2 separate regions of the Homo sapiens genome follow, and region 1 is linked to region 2. The links are contacts of gene promoters, found by promoter capture Hi-C in blood cells and fetal thymus (Javierre and others, 2016). All regions are on one chromosome and are shown on one strand. Each heading gives the region's core, a stretch centred on a gene start or on the middle of the fragment in contact. The rest is flanking DNA. Distances are from core to core; before and after follow the strand shown. Region 1 overlaps CIPC (CLOCK interacting pacemaker). Region 2 holds the start of ALKBH1 (alkB homolog 1, histone H2A dioxygenase).

Region 1 (2,722 bases), core at 112-2,611, 590 kb before region 2:
CCTCTGCCGCAGCCCAGATATCTTTTCAGAGCAGCGGCAGAGCAAACATAGGCGCTTTCAGAATACCCTAGTAGTCCTACATAAATCTGGTTTGCTGGAGATCACTTTGAAAACCAAGGAGTTGATTCGTCAGAATCAGGCAACTCAGGTAGAACTAGACCAGCTAAAGGAGCAAACCCAGCTGTTTATAGAAGCCACCAAGAGCAGGGCCCCTCAGGCTTGGGCCAAGCTGCAGGCATCTTTAACACCTGGGTCCAGTAATACAGGCAGTGACCTAGAAGCATTCTCTGATCACCCAGCCATATAGCACAGAGGCATATTTTCCTGTTACTTGAGTGGTTCTTTTAGCTCATTTGCTGTTACCTACTCCTGTTTCCCAAAGCTTATGTAAGAGCTTTTCCTTCTAAACTTAAACTGTGTTGTGGTTCACTTAGGAAGCCACGTGCCAATACCTGGCTGCTGTCTTAACTCGTAGTCTGGGCACAGGATACATATGTCCCCGTCCCACTGAGGACCTCAGTTTGGGAGTGCCCTTGAGCCCCTTTTCCTTAGCCTGCAGGTGCTTCAATGGATCATGGGGCAAAGCAGGAGATGATTGTGTGGGGCTCTTCCTGCTGTCACCTCCCATCATCCCACTCTCTCACCAGGATCAAGGGTACAGTAACACGAATGAGCATACAGAGCAACACCTGTTGAGCCAGGGAGTAGGTGACACAAGGAAACCTTCATGGATCTTCCCTTGCCTGTCTTAGTCACAGAGAGAAATAAGAGGAGGTTGTTTGCATCCCACAAGGCATCGTACTAGTTGGGCGAGACCTAAAATTCCCTGGGCACAGGTTGCACCTGGGTGTGAGCACTTAATCACTCAACGCTTTGTTTTCTTACACTTGAAAATCAAGGGAAAGAGTAGTACCATCTGACTCCTACACTTTCATTACAAGTCAGATTTTTCTTAAACTAGCAGGCAAAAACAGTACTTCCAAATTTTAAGGTATGGAATGAATGCAGTACATCTGGAATTGTAGTCGATGAATTGCTTTTTTGACTTAGAAGCTGAAGAAAATAGACATAGCCGGCATATCTCATGGTCAGGAGCTGGACGATTCTGGTAACTTAGGCTTTTTTTCTCTCTTCTTTTGAAACAGTGTAACCTGTTTTATGTCTAAAAATCTTAAGGATAGTTTCAGTGGTTCCTGGGATGTAGTATAAGTTAACTCTGCTGCCATCTTGTTTTTTTTTTTTTTCCTTTATTTTGATAAGTGATTATTATGCTTGATAAACTTTGAATTAAATACAGTTGTCTTGAGGGTATGATAAGTCCACAAAAAATTGGAAAGCATCTTACCCATTTTCTTCACATCCCAAATTTTTATTTGTTCCATGTCATAGTGATGGGAAGCAGTTACAGAGCAGCGTCTTCTGTGTTTCCTTCATGTGTTAGATATTGGCAACAAAGCCAGAGGTGTAATGTTGGTTATATGAAGTTCATCTCAAAATGGAGACCATGACCAGAGTTTCCAGATGATACACGTTCTTTTCAGCTTCATTAAATAGGCAACTATGTTTCTAAATAGTAAAGTTTCAAAATATTCTCTCAATTTAAAATTTCATCCTCTTGAAAATCTTTGTTCTTTACAAAATTATCTTAATAAGTTCTATATGGTCAGCTTCATCTTCCTTTTTTTTTTTTTTGAGATGGAGTTTCGCTCTTGTTGCCCAGGCGGAGTACAATGGTGGGATCTCGGCTCACTGCAACCTCCGCCTCCTGGGTTCAAGTGATTCTCCTGCCACAGCCTCCCAAGTAGCTGGGATTACAGGTGCCTGCCACCATGCCCAGCTAATTTTTGTATTTTTAGTAGAAATGGGGTTTTACCGTGTTGGCCAGGCTGGTCTCGAACTCCTGACCTCAGTTGATCCGCCTGCCTCAGCCTCCCAAAGTGCTGGGCTTACAGGCCTGAGCCACCACGCTCAGCTCAGCTTCACCCTGTCTGCAAAGAAAAGTTTTACCAAGACCAGAAGTTAAATATGACATTTCCTAGGTAGTTGTAACTCTAACATAGTTTAAAAAGTATGTGGCTTCAGATTGCCTATACTTTGTTCACAAACGTGTGATTTAGATATGACTGATGTAGAAGTGAACAACTTGGTAACATCCCTAGACTCCACTCATGAACGCAGAATTATTACCTGCTGTTTGCTTTCTGAAAGAATTTCAGAAATCAGAGCAAATGTGTCTTTAGGCAGATTCAGCTCCTTTTAATATTTTTCTCTTGGCCCACTCTCTTTGCTTCCCCTGAATCTGTGTGGTACTATAGCAGCTCTACTCTGTGCACCATGCTAGGAAGCTTCCTTTTTGGCAGAATATGTTTGGCAGCAAAGCTATAGAGACAGGTGCATTCAGAACATCCTGGGCACCAGTCATGAGTCTTACTGTGTCAAAAATCTGAAAACACTTGCTGAGAACCAAATTTATTCCATTGGAAAAACCCTCTGTGGAGCTATAAGCCTCTTGGACTCTTCTTCCTAGATTAAGGCTTGCATTTCCCTCCCTGTTTCAGTAAAAGATGATGAAAGCCACTATCAATCCTCACTGCTGAGTGGCAGGGAGAAGCAGCACCACTCTCAGCTCTTTTCTAATCTTGTAACTTAGTGCTAGAAGTCTCTCCAGGCTATTACCATGGGCATTTGTTCTCTGTTGGAGCTGTAAGCAGATGAACCCAAG
Region 2 (2,905 bases), core at 259-2,758:
TAGTAACTTCTCTTAATTACTACTTTAATCTGCTTTGAGCTGAGGAACTAAACACCCAAGCTTTCATGTACTCAACACATACTGTACTTAGTACTGTTTTAGGTCCTGTACTAGACACATAATGGCTCATTCCCTGATGGCTGACATTCTAAAAAGCATGTACATATTATGGTAAAATGTAGGTAAAAGGAGCTGAATGAGAGTCTGAAGCGCTCTGGAGAGAAAAAGTATATTATTATTGGGGTGTGGACTTTCTGTATTTTGACAACTCTAAGACCACTTTTTTTCCCTAACAAATGAAGGTGCTGAAAAGCTGAGCTCAAGTATGCAATCATTAACACTTAATACTGTAGCATCCCAATTTTATCAGAGCTGTTAGGAAGCTTGGAAAGAATGCCTCATCTAGACATCTGTGGACAACACCAAGAGCAAATTAAGGGACTGCATATCCTCAACGTTAAAGTGGATTGTAAAGAAAGAAAATATAAATTGGACTACAGTTTTGGTTCCCCGTTTTCCCTCTTGCCTGTTATGTTCCCTTAAAAAAATAATTTTTAAAAAATCTATTTACTTGAGAACAGGTTATGAGACTGGCTAATTTTTTGTATTTTTGGCGGAAACGGGGGTCTTGCCATGCCCCAGGCTGGTCTCGAACCCCTGGGTTCAAGCGATCCACCCGCCTCGGCCTCCGAAGTGCGGGATTACAGGCTTGAGCCACCGCTCCCGGACTGTGTTCCCCTTCTTAATCTCCATGGGGAAAAGCTGAGAGAGAGAACGGTGCCTGTATTCCATATATACTTGTTTGCCATTTATTTTCAACACGGAGGGATTCTCAGAATCCTTCAATGACCTCCTTCTAAAAGAGCCAGAGGAGAAGACAGGGACTAGTTTTACGCACAGTGGCTTAACAAACAGCGCCGCATCCCTGTCAGTTCTGGGATTCCTCGGGAGTGGTTTTTTTTAAGCTGCAGAAGTCTACCCTACCGTCTACAAAGACGTTCTATGGGGTTTTACAAAAACCCAAACAGAAATGTGAGGAGACAGTTACAGTAAGAAATAAACACGGATTCCCAGGCTCTTTTGACTGAGCGCCCCCGCCAGGAATGGCCGCCTAAAGAAACAGGCATCTCAACGCTTTATTGCTAAGTGTGACGGTTAGTGGGGAGTTCGACTCTGCAGCCAAAGGAGGTCAGGAATCGTTCAATAACAATCGGTCTGGAGGTGAAAAGAGGCGAAGAAGACACGTAAGTCCCTCCAAGACGCGGGGCAAAGCGATGGAGAGACGCGCGCCACTCCTCTCTCTGTACCTTTTGGGCACCAGGACCCTTGCCACGGGCTGCGTGGGCCGCCGAGAAGTCGATGACCCCTTCCAGGTCTGCGGTCCCGGGCCGGCTCTGACGGTAGAAGCGGAAAAGTTTCCGAAAGGCGTCCTCCCCGGGCTCAGTCGCCAGAGTCGCCACAGAGCCCACGGCCGCTGCCATCTTCCCCATCTCGCGGCCTATACCCTCTGATCCGGAAGCAGATTCTCTCGTGTTCCGGATCCGGAAATTTTTTCCGGGGCCGCGACCTCGGCTCGAGAAGGTGCTTTAGTCTGAAGATGGCGGCCTCAGCAGCGAGAGGTGCTGCGGCGCTGCGTAGAAGTATCAATCAGCCGGTTGCTTTTGTGAGAAGAATTCCTTGGACTGCGGCGTCGAGTGAGTGATGGAGATGTGGGAGTAGTGGAATTTTTAGGTCCAAGTGATCCTCAAAGCTTCTGCTTTTTGCAGGGTACTTAAGTCAGCGTGGTGGCTGAATTAGGAGACTGCTCCTGAGCATGCAAGTGAGCAGAAAGAAATTTTGTTTGCAGTTAACCGTTTAGGGATGTCCCTTGAGCTTTTGGGGTCACGAATGCACCGGCTCTTGCCTTTAGGAGTGATTTGGTGTAAAGATTTATTACTTGGTAACCAAGATTTACAATTTAGAAGGGATAATTTTGACTGTAGTGTGGAGGATGGATTCAAGGTGGCAAGATTGTAGGCGTGCAGAGGAGCTAAAAGGCAATTTCATTAATTTACTTAAAACGTGAGGACCTGAATTAGGGCGATGGTAGAAGGATGGTGGTCAGATGCATTAATGTTTTAAAAGCAAATTAGATGCCGTTTCGTGATGGCTTAAGTGGGAGAAGTGTACGGAATAAAGGAAAGGGAGAAATGATTTCTGGGTTTTTAGCATTGGTGAATTGTTTGTTTAGAAGTTAGGAGCAGGCCAAGAGAAGATGAGTAAAGTTTGAATGTGTTGACTTTGAGAAACTTGTGAGGTTTCCGTCAGGCAATTGGACAAAGGTTGTATATCATTGTGGCTGAGAAGTGGACTCCGAAGCTAGACCGTTGGGGTTAGAATTCCAACTTGGCCATTTAATCGTTGTTATCACTTGAATAACTGAAGTTAGTATGGGAAAAGGGCTCACAACTGGGCCTCAGTTTACTCATCGATAAAATGGAGTCAATAATACCCAACTCATAGGATTGTTGAGAGGATTGAGTTTATATGCAAACTTCTTAGACTTGTGTTAGATACAGTGTAAGTACTCAGCAAATGATAGTTATTTTCACGGTAACTAAAATTGAAACTTACGGGAGAGGCCTAGTCTACAGATAAAGGTTGGAATAATTAGTTCTGAAATCTTTCACCACCTTCAATTTTTGTCAGCTGCAGTTTTGAGATGAGGTTTTTATATTTGCTTACCAACATGTAAACATTCGTGGTCACTCTTTTTGTAGATATTCATGTTTCAGGTCAACCCCTGGAAACAAAATGGAGCAAGATTTAGTTTCTTCTAAGTTTTTAGTGGCTCAGATGTGAGTAGTAGAATGGGAAATAGGTTGGTTTGTGCCCCGTGTTTTAAACATGTGGTTGGTGAAGACCA

Evidence for each region. The method cuts DNA at HindIII sites, captures the fragments that hold promoters and counts their contacts. A CHiCAGO score of 5 or more calls a contact.
Region 1: a contact is called between a fragment that was not itself captured here and the fragment with the promoter of ALKBH1 in region 2, in 1 of 17 cell types (total B cells). The highest score is 5.8, in total B cells.

Annotation. Positions count from the first base shown.
Region 1 is chr14:77,114,012-77,116,733 of GRCh38, forward strand. CIPC (CLOCK interacting pacemaker) reads left to right here. Exons shown (of 4, transcript NM_033426.3): 4 at 1-2,722. The coding sequence ends at 307. Among named protein-coding and RNA genes, the nearest start is that of CIPC, 17 kb to the left of the region's middle. The HindIII fragment of the contact is 1,963 bases long and covers 381-2,343 here.
Region 2 is chr14:77,706,515-77,709,419 of GRCh38, forward strand. ALKBH1 (alkB homolog 1, histone H2A dioxygenase) reads right to left here and starts at 1,509. Exons shown (of 6, transcript NM_006020.3): 1 at 1,308-1,509. The coding sequence starts at 1,490. It overlaps SLIRP (SRA stem-loop interacting RNA binding protein), which reads left to right and starts at 1,589. Exons shown (of 4, transcript NM_031210.6): 1 at 1,589-1,694. The coding sequence starts at 1,598. RefSeq lists an enhancer at 1,143-1,472. The HindIII fragment of the contact is 1,367 bases long and covers 382-1,748 here.